Linked DNA regions of Homo sapiens: all the other regions are linked to region 1. Evidence: promoter capture Hi-C in 16 types of primary human blood cells and fetal thymus (Javierre and others, 2016). All regions are on one chromosome and are shown on one strand. The core of a region is centred on a gene start or on the middle of the fragment in contact, and the rest is flanking DNA. Distances in the headings are between cores, read along the strand shown.

Region 1 (3,320 bases), core at 667-3,166:
AGACATCCATCAGCCAAATTTCCACATCAGAATTTCCTGGAAAAGGGTGACCACCCGAAGAACTCCCAAAATACGTATCTATCCCAGGGCTTCAAGCTAGAAACAAGGAGGCCCCTTGCTTCTCATGTAAGAAGCAATACGTTCGCTTTCTTTTACATCCGAATCTCGGGAAAGGAACTGGAAAAGCCAGGGCAGGGCACACCTGAGCCTCTCCTACAAGTAGGGTATCTCCGGATTCTCCAGATACAGAACCAAGAGGGTTCCTGCAACATACTCTGCTGACAGCCCATGAAAGCTCATTCCAGCAGCCCCTAAACTTTGCTCAAATGCTACTGATGCCTTTAGGAGAGATTTTGTTGTTCTCTGGACCTGAAAGCAATCTAATGTACTTTTATAAGGCCAGGCTCTTGCTGACAATGTTGCCACAGGATACATCCTCAGGCGGACTCACCCTGTAACCATTTCACTTCTTTCTTTCTTCCCCCCGCCCCCGATGAATTGCACTGAGCATTCTCAGTCAAAATTTGCTACTTTCTCTGTGAAGTAGGTCAAGAGTTAAATAATAAATAAATTCAGCCTCCATGATTTCTTCCGGCAGTGTTTTACCAGAATGTTTAGGAATACTGACACCATTGAAGGTAACTGTTAATTTAGTCTTTACAAGAATCCTGGGGGCAGGCGGGCTTCTAGTAAAGGGGATGTCCTGGAAGGTCACCCCCCCACACACAAAGGACTTTAGAAACTTCGGGTCTCACTCAGGCTGTGACTGCGAGCTCAGTGATTAGAGGACAGCCTGTCACATAGACAATAAACAGCCAGCCGCCTTGCCTCAGCAGGTCCTGTGCAGCCCTGGGGCCAGGCCAGAACCCCAGGAACAAGCCACTTTCGGGTTCTGAGCCTTAGCCTCGGGGAGCTGGACCAGGGGAGCAGGCAGTGGCGGGGGGTGCTACGGCACCCCAGGATCAAGCCTGCTGAGGGGGCTCGGGCTGGTGGCCAGCAGGCTCGGCTGACCAGCAAGTGGGTGGTCCCGAGGCGGCCAGGCAGCCTGACCCAAGGCAGCACGACCGTCCACGGGTCATCAGGCTCTAGACTCCGGGGTGGAGACGCGGGGCTGCGGGACCGAGTCGGTGCCACTTTCTCGCACCCCTGATCCTCCGTGCCTCTTCCCAAGACCGCCAGACCCTTCACCGGCCCCTGCCACTGCCGGGAACGCTCCCGCCTGCTCCTTAACTCACACAGGCAACAAGTTCTCGCTTCCTCAGAGCAGCCACGGTGTGCTCCGGAGGCCCGGCGCAAGGTGGAAGCTCCCCGCGAGTCCGCGTTGCCCACGCCCCGAGGGGCGCCCGCTGCCGTCGCTGCCCCCCAGGAGCGTGGAGCTACAGGTAGCGCCGGCAAGGGCTGCCCCCCGGGGCGCCCCTCCGACCGGGACGCTGCGGCATCCCCGGAACGGGCAACAGGTACGCGAGCGCACCGAGGACCGCAGCCCCGGCTCCTACAGCCCCGGCCCTCGCCCCTTACCTCCAGCAACTGCACGTAGCTCGCCGGGAACCAGCCACGGAGCCCGTCCTCCTTCTCGCCTTCCCACCAGCCGCCGTCCGGGACCTGCAGCAGCGTGATCAGCTCGCCCGCGGCGAAGCGCAGCCCCTGGCCGTGCCGCTCCCCGGAGAAGGGGTACAGGGTCCGGCAGCGAGCGCCGGACATGGCCTTGGCGCCCGGGTTCACAGCGCAGCCTGCATTCCCGCCGAGCCCCACGGGCTGGGCAGCGGCTCCGCGGGGTCCCAGGCGCCCGGCGCTCCGGGCTCCCGCGCTCTGGGCGCGCGCCGTCTCTGGGGTGCGCGGGGGTCCTCAGGCAGGCGGGGGACGCGCGCTCCGCGCCGGGAAGCAGAGACTCGTTGGCTTCGCAGAGCGAGCGGCGACGCCCCCGGGCCGGGCAGCTCGCGGATCCTAGCTCTGGGCTGGGGGGCGGGGCTCAGGGGGAGGAGACCCAGGCGCCGCGGGCTCCGGAGACAACTTCCCGGGAACGCGGAACGCGGGCTGCCGCCGCGAGGGCTGGCCGGGGCCGGGGCCGGGACCGGGGCCGGGGCCGCCCTGGCGCGCGGAAATGCGCAGCTCCCCCGGGAGGTGGGACCCGGAGCATCCCCCGCGGCAGGACTCCGCGGCGGGCGGCCGTGGAGAGGAGCTGGCGGCCGGGTGGCCGGGCGGGGGTTAGCTCACTGGCGAGGGGGCGGGCCGGGGCGGGGCCAGGGCGGCCACGCCCGCGGAGGGCTGCGCGCTCCCTCGCAGAGGGGCCTGTCACTGGGGAGAGGGGCTCCCACTCGCGCCCCCACCGCCGGGGACCGCGGGAATGGAAACGCCCCTCTGTTCTGTGCCTGCTTTGTAGGCCTGGCGGCCCGTGGCGTGCGGGCGGCTTCTTCGAGGTGTCTGCGAGGGATCGTTTGTGGTTGTCATTGTAGTGGTTGAACCTGGGGTTGAACTTGTCTCACCGGAAACTGAACAATGGGTGAAAGACAGGTTTGAAGCCTGGCGCCTGAGCCCAGCAGCCTGGTGGCAGCGTGGCACGCTGGAGGGACGGAATGGAGAGAAGACGGGGTCGGAGTTGATAGAATTGGAAACAGTCGATGGGGATAAATGGAGGAAAGGCGAACGGTGAGAGGAACAGCACCAATGCTTTTACTTGCAGAGGGAAGGCCGGCCCAGGGTACCAGCCCTCCCGAAATCGAGATGGGTTGGCTAAAGAGTCTACACTCATGTAGTCAGTCAACAAACATTACCAGGAGGCTGCCATGTTCCATGCGATGTGCCAGGTACTACAAACATCATTTGGGCCAGTCCCTGCTCTCCAGGGACCAGTGAACCTGAGTGCTGCAGAATGTTGACCTTGAACTGACCGTACAGAAGTAAAAGAAAGCTTGGTTTCTTTGCTAGTCTACTCCATAAAAAATTTTAAAGAAATAAAATAAAGTACATTTTTTAGCCTGTAAATAGCTGGACTCGGCCAGGCGCGGTGGCTCACGCCTGTAATCCCAGCACTTTGGGAGGCTGAGGCGAATGGCTCACTTGAGGTCAGGAGTTCAAGACCAGCCTGGCCAACAAGGTGAAACCCCATCTCCACTAAAAATACAAAAATTAGCCGGGCGTGGTGGCGGGTGCCTGTAATCCCAGCTACTCAGGAGGCTGAGGCAGGAGAATGGCTTGAACCCGGGAGGTGGAAGTTGCAGTGGGCGGAGATCATACCACTGCATTCCAGCCTGGGTAACAAGGGTGAAACTCCGTCTCAAAAAAAAAAAAAGCTGGACCCTTTAATACGCCTGTATACCTCT
Region 2 (2,974 bases), core at 18-2,517, 310 kb before region 1:
TAAAAATACAAAAAATTAGTCGGGCGTGGTGGCGTCCGCCTGTAATTCCAGCTACTTGGGAGGCTGAGACAGGAGAATGCTTGAACTCGGGAGGCGGAGGTTGCAGTGAGCCGAGGTTGAGCCACTGCACTCTAGCCTGGCGACAAGAGTGAAACTCCATCTCTAACAAACAAACAAATAAACAAACATTAGCCAGTGCCCACTATGACCAAGTAGAGATGCAACAGTGACCTTGCCCAATATTTGTATAATTGAATGAATGACACAAGGTCTTGGGGGTTTAATCATCATTGACCCATGTGCACCTGTGAACAATCTAAGCAAACACCTAGGCTGATATAGGCGGAGCAGGGCGGGCGGGGCGCTGGATGTCAAAGTAAGAACAGATGCCATGGAAATCCAAGTTAATGTAACCAGTATGACTAATTCTAGTTAGTGTAAGCAATGCAGTTGCACGCCTCTTCTGGAGACTCCTTACGACCTGTGCAGGGCTTTGGACGTTGCCAGTAACTCTCAGACACATCTTCTCCGGAGTCAGATTTTATGCCATGTCCTCCTTTTGTTTCAGGGGTTCCTGGTGGCCTTGCAGTATGGTTTTGCCAATGGAGAGGTATGATTTCCACGTTGCCATCCTGGTTTCATGTGAGGTTGGGACTGCAACCCTACCCACCTCTGGAGGTTTCTGTGGATGGGATGATGCTACGGGAGAATGTGCAGTGACCAGCATGTGTGGGGACAAATTTGTATTGTGAGCTTCCGGTACAGAGAGCAGGAGGCAGCTTAGACAAATGGAAAAAAGGTGTCGGGATGGGTATAAGGGAGTTCAGAAGCCAGCACTGGCTCTGCTGGAGATGCAAGGAGTATTCAAATGTGACAGAGGAAACAAGCTTGAACCTCAGAGTCCAAAAATCTGAATTCACGCCTTGGTTCACCCTCAGGAGTTCTGTGAGTTAGCTGGGTCACCGCACTTTGTTTAGCCTCACTTTCCTCATCAGTAACATGGGAGCAACAATCATCCCTGCTTTGTAGTCTTGCTCTGGGTATGCTGAGCACATAGCAAATAAATGCTCAACACCTGGGAACTATGATTACATTTTTTTAAAAATTATTTTTATTTTTTTGAGACAGAGTCTCACTCTGTTGCCCAGGCTGGAATGCAGTGGCATGATACCAGCTCACTGCAACCTCTGCCTCCCAGATTCAAGCGATTCTCATGCCTCAGCCTCCTGAGTAGCTGGGATTACAGGTGCCCACCACCACACTCAGCTAATTTTTATATTTTTAGTAGAGATGGGGTTTCACCATGTTGGCCAGGCTGGTCTCAAACTCCTGATCTCAAGTAATCCACCTGCTTCAGCCTCCCAGAGTGCTGGGATTACAGGCATGAACCATGAAGCCTGGCCTATTATTGCTTTTAGTTATTCATATTATTGCATAGCCCAACCAGCTCTCTGCTTCCCTGGGAAAAGATTTGACAGTGGGAGGGGCAGAGGCCAGAACAGGTGTTTTCTCCTGTCTTTAGGAGTTGGTAGAGTTTCCAACCCCTTTTCAACCTCCTCTCGCCCTACTACAAGTGTAAATATTTATTTCTGTCTCCTCCCATTATGTACTTCCACTTACATAGAATGTACATAGCTCACATTCTATGTAAGCTTCTTGACAGCAAAACCATCTTCTGTTTTGCTCACTGCTGCTTCTTCTGTATCTTCATGCAGGGGGCTCCTCACCTATCAAGCAGGTTTCAGCTCACATGCCACCCCGGCAGAGTCCTTTCCTGAACACCCTGTCTTAAGTTTTTGTTTCTTTACCGTATTGTCCTGCTTAGTACTCTCACAGTGTCATCACCACCAGACATGTTTATGTATCTTTGTTTCTCCTTGTCTCCCCCAGTTAAAAGGTAAATTTCCCAAGGGTGGCACAGAGTAGCTACTCAATTAATATTTGCTAAATGGACACATGGCTAAATGACTCCAAGACAGTAACCTCTCACTTGTCTCACCCGGCAGGTGAAGGCTGAGCTGCGGAAATACTGGGTCCGCTTCTTGCTAGCCCGCCACTCAGGCTGCAGAGCCTGTGTCCTGGGGAAGGACTTCCGGTTCCTAGGAAAATGTCCCAAGAAGCTCTCGGAAGGAGATGGCGCTGAGAAGCTTCGGAAGCTGCAGCCCTCACTTAACAGTGGGCGGCTCCTACATCTAGCCATGCGAGGTCTTGGGGAGCTGGGCGCCCAGCCCCAACAGGACCATGCACGCTGGCCCCGGGGCAGCAGCCTGTCCGAGTGCAGTGAGGGGGATGTCACCATGGCCAACACCATGGAGGAGATTCTGGAAGAGAGTGAGATCTAGGGTGGAGTTCCACCACCCTGGCTCTGCTCCCAGGGACTCTTGAGGGGGCCCAGGAAGAGGAAGCAAAGCAGGACACACGTTGCTGGGCACGGAATCATTCTCGTTCCATTCACCATGCCACTTTGATATGAAAGCTATCACAAGGTTCTTCAAGCTCTGTATGAAAGAGGCTGTGTGTCATGCTCACAGCCTCTGCCTGCTCTTCTCATCCTAATAACCCCCACCAGTGTGTTTTCCACAATGCCCACCAGACCCTAGGGCCTGGCTCTAAATTCAAGCCAATGAAGTCCCACCATGAAGAGAGGTCTCCTGTTATAGAGAAGCCAGCCAATATCTCTTCCTTTATCCCTTGGGGTGCATGCTTTCCATCTGAGGTTGGGTTTAGGGTGCGTGAAAACCTCCTAGGAAGCTTTTAAAATGCAGAATCCTAGACTTGTGGCTAAGATTCTAAGACAGTGAGTCTGGGACCATGGCCAGGAATTGGAGCTGTTTAATAAGCATCCCAGGTAATTCTGCTGCAAGCCCACCCTTGGAGAACACTGGGCAGGGTGAGAGGGAGCTAGAAGCGCCCCCATGTGGCCATGGCAGGATGCTGCAAGAGACAGTCTGCTCTCCCAGGTCAGCTGGGGTGT
Region 3 (3,353 bases), core at 478-2,977, 260 kb before region 1:
AGAGAAAACCTGGAGGTATGTGCCAGGGAGTGGGGAAGGGAGAGTCACTTGGAAACATGGAGAAATCTTGAGAGAAAGCAGACCTGAAAAGACTGGGGGTGGGGTGGAGATAGTCAGAGGGCTCTGTTCATTCATGACTCAATAAGAAAATATTTATTAAGCATCTACTACATGCAAGACACCATCCTGAGCCCTGAGGATGGGAATAGGACAGAAACACCCTGCCCTCGAGTCCTGGCACTAGTATCTTCAGAATTAAATGAAAGAGGGATGCTTTATGGTCGGGAGTGGTGGCTCACGCCTATAATCCTAGCACTTTGGGAGGCGGAGGAGGGTGGATCATGAGGTGAGGAGTTCAACACCAGCCTGGCCAACACGGTGAAACCCCATCTCTACTAAAAATACAAAAAATTAGCTGGGTGTGGTGGCAGGCGCCTGTAGTCCCAGCTACTCGGGAGGCTGAGGCAGGAGAATCACTTGAACCCGGGAGGCGGAGCTTGCAGTGAGCTGAGATCGCACCACTGCACTCCAGCCTGGGCGACAAAGCAAGACTCTGTCTCAAAATCAATAAATCAATAAATCAATCAATAAATAAATGAATAAATAAATAAAGAAGGACCCTTTACTTGTTCTGAAATTTTGCAACAACCACAAATTTAAAAAAAATTCTCCCTTTGGCATAACCTAATGTTCCCTGACACTAGGAAGAGACAGGACATCCTACTCCATCCCTTTGAAAGCCAGGCAAAAAGAAAGCAGGGCTTCGTCACTCAGGGGCTGCCCTGAGAAACTGGGCAGGTGTGCTAAGGCCTGCTCCCAGTGGCTCCCAAGAGCTGAATGTTAAATTTTCAGGAATTCTGTTTGCTGGTTGTTAAACACGGCCATTATCAAAAAGGAAATGATATGAACTTATAATTGAATAAAAATTATATTAAAAACGAAGGTAATAGGCCAGGTATAGTGGCTCATGTCTGTGATCCCAGCATTTTGGGAGGTAGAGGCAGGAAGACTGCTTGAAGCCAGGAGGTTCAAGACCAGCCTGGGGAAAATAGCGAGACCCCATCTCTACAAATAAATAAAAAAATTACCCAGGCATGGTTGCATACACCTGTTGTCCCAGCTACTTGGGAGGCTGAGGTGGGAGAATCGTTTGAGCCCAGGAGGCTGAGGCTGCAGTGAGCTATGATCATGTCACTGCACTCCAGCCTGGGCAACACAGTGAGACCTTGTCTTTTTAAAAATAACAAAACATAAAAAACAAAGGCAATAAATACCTAGCACTTACCACCTCCTAACTACACTTTACTATTTTCCATGCTCTTGGTGGATATTGATGGTTATTTGTGCTACTGTGTCTATACAAAAATGCACCACCTCATGGTGAGCCACTGGGCAGATATCTCTTCCCAACTCCGTATTCCGTGACTTCATGTTGATAGCCTGAAGTTTACACCAGGGAAAATGGCAAACGGCAAACTGGAGAGACAGTTGTTAACTATTTTTTAGTACCCCAGTGTGTAAGACCAACTGAGGGTGGCTGCAGGGAGGGGTTACCTTGGCAGAGAACTTGAGGTGAACTTCTGCTTCGTCCGCCAGGCTCTTCTTCACCTGGGCCCACGCCTCTCCCAAGGAGCTGCAACACAAAGACCATGAGACTCAGGTCACAAGCCAAAGCCCTTCCTGAGGCAGGATGGTGGGGCTCCACCCCAGGTCTCGGGGAGGTATATGACAGCTGAGAATGTGGACGCGGATGAGGCAGAAGTCAGGCAGAAACCAGACATGAGCATCACGTTTCAACTCACAGAGTCAGATGAGCCACCAAGGTCCAAGTGAGCTCACCTTACCTCTGGAGCTAAGGAAACAGACTGTGGCGCACAGCCAAGAGGTGGGGGGGGTGGGGATTCCTAGAAATCCAGAGGCTCGAAAGGACCCAGGAAGGTGCCGGAAGCAGGTGTGGGGACATTCCAAAGCCTCAGCTGCAGTGAGGGCCTTGACCCCTGGGCCGTCACTGTCCCCAGAGCTTTCACATCACCCCTCCCTGGTTTGCTGATGAGGGGTGCAAGCATCTGCTAATAAATCAAGGAAGGAAAACAGGTTCTATTCCAGGGAGAAGCTCTTTTCATTTGTTTATTAGTTTGTTCCTTGAGACAGTCTTGCTCTGTCGCCTAGGCTGGAGTACAATGGCGCGATCTTGGCTCATGGCAACCTCTGCCTCCTGGGTTCAAGCGATTCTCCTGTCTCAGCCTCCCGAGTAGCTGGGATTACAGGCGTGTGCCACCACATCCGGCTAATTTTTATATTTTTAGTAGAGACGGGGTTTTGCCATGTTGGCCAGGCCGGTCTCGAACTCCTGACCAACTGAGAGCAGCTGCAGGGAGGGGTTACCTCGGCCTCCCAAAGTACTGGGATTACAGGCATAAGCCACCATGCCCAGCCGGAGAAGCTCTTTTCAAACAGCAGGTATCACACAGCGCTGCTTATAGGAAAAACCCAGCTCCTTGGCTTCCAGGAGTGGGGAAGATGGACTGTGTGGGTCTAGTGACCTAGATGCAGCCACAGGGCAGAGAAGGCTCCCACGGCCATCCTAGGAAGCACGGTCTCCTCTAGCACTGCTTCTCTAGCTGTGAGCCCTGATGCTGCCCACAGCTTACTAGAGAAGGGCCAAGTCCTCTTAGCAGCATCACTTCTCCACTCCAAGGAGAGGCTTCACGTAGAAGAAATCTCCTGAAGTCCCTAAGACTTGCCAATGCAGGCCCCAGGCTACATTCTCTATGATTTGGAGCTCTTTAACCGCATGACCCTTCCAAGTGATACCCCCGCTTTCTTGCTCCCAGCCTCTTCAACACAGCCAGTAAATCCAGGCTGAATGTTCTGTTGACTTAATATCATCCAAAAGCCACTTCCCCCAGAGAATTCATTAAAGTCGAGTGGCAAAAGCTGAATAAAAGACAGCATGTGGTGAGGCTTCTGGGTCTGGAGCAGAGCAGCCAGCAGCGAAGAATTGCCCAACAGTGCACAGCAGATCCCTCTGATGGCTGGCCAGCCCTGTGTGGTGGTGGCGCAGGCTCAGGCCGAGGTGGGTGTTTATGGGAAATGACTGCCTGATTTTATCTAGGAGTCTAGCAGCAAAGAAAGGTCCCCTCAGTGATCCTGGCAGGGGAAGCCACCAGAGAAGCACTGGAGTATGAAACGGGGCAATCCAAGCTGTTGACAATTGTCTCTGCCTGAAGGGCCTGAGATCCAGGAAGCTGTACTGGGGCACTCCACCCCCTCTGGGTGGCTTGGGTGCCCCACCTGATTCAACAGGTGGGTAGGAGGTCCAGGGGTGGCAGGAGTAGTCCTGGCAGTTACAC
Region 4 (3,010 bases), core at 76-2,575, 330 kb before region 1:
TAGTCCCAGGCTAAGGTGAGGGGCTTGCTTGAGCCCAGAAGGTCGAGGCTGCAGTGAGCCATGATTGTGCCACTGCACTCCAGCCTGGGTGACCCTGTCTCAAAAAAAAAAAAAAAAAAGTTTCTAAGAATGGGTGGTTGTGGGAAAAGGACAGTCTTGTTTGAAGAGAAGTTTGGCAGTTGCCTTCCTTGGGGAAGGATTTGAAGAGAAGAGATTATTTGGGTGTTTTTGAGACCTTGAGAAATGAGACCACAAACTTTTAGGGTCTAAGGAAAGACATCCTTCCACAGGCATCCTTTAATTGTGACTTGTTGTCGCTGCATCTCACCTTCCTCTTTCTGAGATGACAGCAGTCCTCATTCATAGTCAGTCAGATCATAGGTATTTATTAGATCTGCATTGTTGTAAAAGCAAATGAATGAATGAAGAGAGATAAAGGGTTTCCTCCCTCTTTTCCTAGTTATTCTTTACTTTCTTTCTTTTTTTTTTTTTTTTTTTTTTGACAGAGTCTTGCTCTTGTCGCCCAGGCTGGAGTGCAATGGCATGATCTCAGCTCGCTGCAACCTCCACCTCCCAGATTCAAGCCATTCTCCTGCCTCAGCCTCCTGAGTAGCTGGGATTACAGGCACCTGCCACCACGTCCGGCTAATTTTTGTATTTTTAGTAGAGACAGAGTTTCACCATGTTGGCCAGGCTGATCTCAAACTCCTGACCTCATGATCCACTAGCCTTGGCCTCCCAAAGTGCTGGGATTACAGGCGTGAGCCACCACACGTGGCCTATTCTTTGCTTTCTATGTGGCATATGCATTCAGCAGGGCTCTGGAACGGGAGTGTTTTAACCCACAGAGTAGCTCTAAGAGTAGGAATTTCAGTCCACACAGGAAGGCAGAAGAGGTGGGCACGAGTGAAGATGGCCCTAGCCCTGTTTCTCTCCCCTTTATAAGGCCTCACCCAGGTGCTGGGAAGGGAGTTTTTCCTTTTATCTGACAAATATTTAATAGATGCCTACAATGTGCCTGGTACTGTGCTTGGAATAAAAGGTGGACATGAGGCCAGGTTCGGTGACTCACGCCTGTAATCCCAGTACTTTGGGAGGCCAAGGTGGGCATATCACCTGAGGTCAGGAGTTCAAGACTAGCCTGGCCAACATGGCAAAACCCTGTCTCTACTAAAAATACAAAAATTAGCTGGGTGTGGTGGTGTGTGCCTGTAATCCCAGCTACTCAGGAGGCTGAGGCAGGAGAATCACTTGAATTCGGGAGGCGGAGGTTGCAGTAAGCCGAGATCGTGCCATTGTACTCCGGCCTGGGTGACAAGAGCAAAACTCCATCTCAAAAACAAACAAACAAAAAACGGTGTACACGATGTAGACCCTGCATTTGAGGAGCATGCATTCTACTTTGCTAAGGACTAGGATGTTGGCATGGAGCAGGAGGTGGAACGGAGGGAGCTGGCCACGACCCTAGACTTGCCTACTGGCCTTAGGCAAGTGCCTTGGCCCCTTTGGCCTGCTTTCTGGTGTGTAAAAATGGGAGTGTCACTGCAGACTCATCTCCTGCTTATTATGAGGATTCAAGGAGTCTGTAGATATGGTTATAAATATGGGTGGCCACTCTACCCTCCCTCTAGGAGGTCTAGAAGGGTAAACATACCCGGTTCAATAATGGGCAGACATACTATAGTTGCTAGTTGGAGCTTTGGTCCAAACATTTTGCAAGAAACCCGTAGCCCTGGGGAGCCGGCCTGGCCTGGGCTCCAGGGAGCCACGCTGTCTCTCTTGGCGCCTCCAGTCGAGGCTCCAAGTGGCCAAGCAGTCTCTCTGGCTCCCTTCCCAAAGGCTTAGCCTCTCTCACCACTCTTTCAGGGTGGAGCTTCAAAGCCTGCTCTAGTCCACCCTGCTGGGTGCACTCAGGGAGGAGAGTTCTCTCAATAAACAGGTGCCAGGAAAACCAGGGTGCCCCAGAAAGTGGACAGAGGCTAGTGTTTCCAGGAGACAGAAATGGTGCAGTTGACCCCAAAGGGACTCAGAGCTGACACACTGCTGCTTTGTGCCCCCAAAGCCTATCACGGGCCACTGGCACCTTCGCCATGCCCAAGACCCACAGCAACCCCTAAATAGTTTTTCATCATAGCTCCTCATCAGCATCCCCGGACAGCTGGCCAGAAGTGCAGCCTTGTGAGCCCTACCACTGGGTATTCTGACTCCATAAATGCGGGATAGAACCTCACAGAGCAGCCGTGTCCAACCCTTTGAATGGAAGGACATTTTTGCTTATCCGTTGTGGTGGATATCACAAAAACTATGCATGGACTTTTTTTTTTTTTTTTTTTTTTTAGCTCATCAGCTATTGTTAGTGTTAGTTTATTTTACATGGGGCCCAGGACAACTCTTCTTCTTCCAACGGGGCTCAGGGAAGCCAAAAGGTTGGATACCCCTGCTGCAGAGTCTCCCAGGAGATTCTGATACACAGCCAGTGTGGAGGACTGCTGGGCCAGATGTTCTATTGAAAGAACACATGCTAATGAATAAGCATTAGTTAATCAACTCTATTGCACTCTGCAGAAAGAACTAGTAAACAGAAAGGTGGCCAACGAAAATGGCAGGGAAACCACAGAGGGAGGACGTTCTCAGTGGAATATTCTGGTCGGGCCATTATAAATGTCATGCAGCCTCAATGTTCTCTTTTCCAGAGTCCCCTCTAGAGTTTTCAGACTTTTCTGATCACACATCTCTGTCAGTAAAGAAATTCTGAGCACATCCCTCCTCATGTATATGCATGGTATCATGAGCTAATATATGTATTATAAGATAGACCAAAAAATAGAAAATTTAAGAGGACAGATAAAAATTAATATATATACAATGCCTATTATCCTCTATTATAATATTTTCTTCCAATATCAAATAGATTGCCCGGCATAGCCCTGGAGGGTGCGTACCCACCAGGAGCCATTGGTCTAGGAAAGGGTAAATCAAGATACTGGGGAGACCCTCATGGCTGAGCGAT

The links. The method cuts DNA at HindIII sites, captures the fragments that hold promoters and counts their contacts. A CHiCAGO score of 5 or more calls a contact.
Region 2: a fragment that was not itself captured here is called in contact with the fragment with the promoter of GAS7 in region 1 in 1 of 17 cell types (M0 macrophages); the score reaches 6.3 in M0 macrophages.
Region 3: a contact is called between a fragment that was not itself captured here and the fragment with the promoter of GAS7 in region 1, in 6 of 17 cell types (neutrophils, monocytes, M2 macrophages and 3 more). The highest score is 18.2, in neutrophils.
Region 4: a fragment that was not itself captured here is called in contact with the fragment with the promoter of GAS7 in region 1 in 1 of 17 cell types (M0 macrophages); the score reaches 5.1 in M0 macrophages.

The regions. Positions count from the first base shown.
Region 1 is chr17:10,196,690-10,200,009 of GRCh38, forward strand. It overlaps GAS7 (growth arrest specific 7), which reads right to left and starts at 1,917. Exons shown (of 14, transcript NM_201433.2): 1 at 1,519-1,917. The coding sequence starts at 1,701. The HindIII fragment of the contact is 8,346 bases long and covers 1-2,906 here.
Region 2 is chr17:9,887,364-9,890,337 of GRCh38, forward strand. GLP2R (glucagon like peptide 2 receptor) reads left to right here. Exons shown (of 13, transcript NM_004246.3): 12 at 569-610; 13 at 2,007-2,974. The coding sequence ends at 2,342. Among named protein-coding and RNA genes, the nearest start is that of RCVRN, 16 kb to the right of the region's middle. The HindIII fragment of the contact is 765 bases long and covers 886-1,650 here.
Region 3 is chr17:9,932,612-9,935,964 of GRCh38, forward strand. GAS7 (growth arrest specific 7) reads right to left here. Exons shown (of 14, transcript NM_201433.2): 9 at 1,555-1,633. Among named protein-coding and RNA genes, the nearest start is that of RCVRN, 29 kb to the left of the region's middle. The HindIII fragment of the contact is 9,972 bases long and covers 1-3,353 here.
Region 4 is chr17:9,871,243-9,874,252 of GRCh38, forward strand. The region is part of intron 10 of GLP2R (glucagon like peptide 2 receptor); the gene reads left to right. Among named protein-coding and RNA genes, the nearest start is that of RCVRN, 33 kb to the right of the region's middle. The HindIII fragment of the contact is 3,580 bases long and covers 1-3,010 here.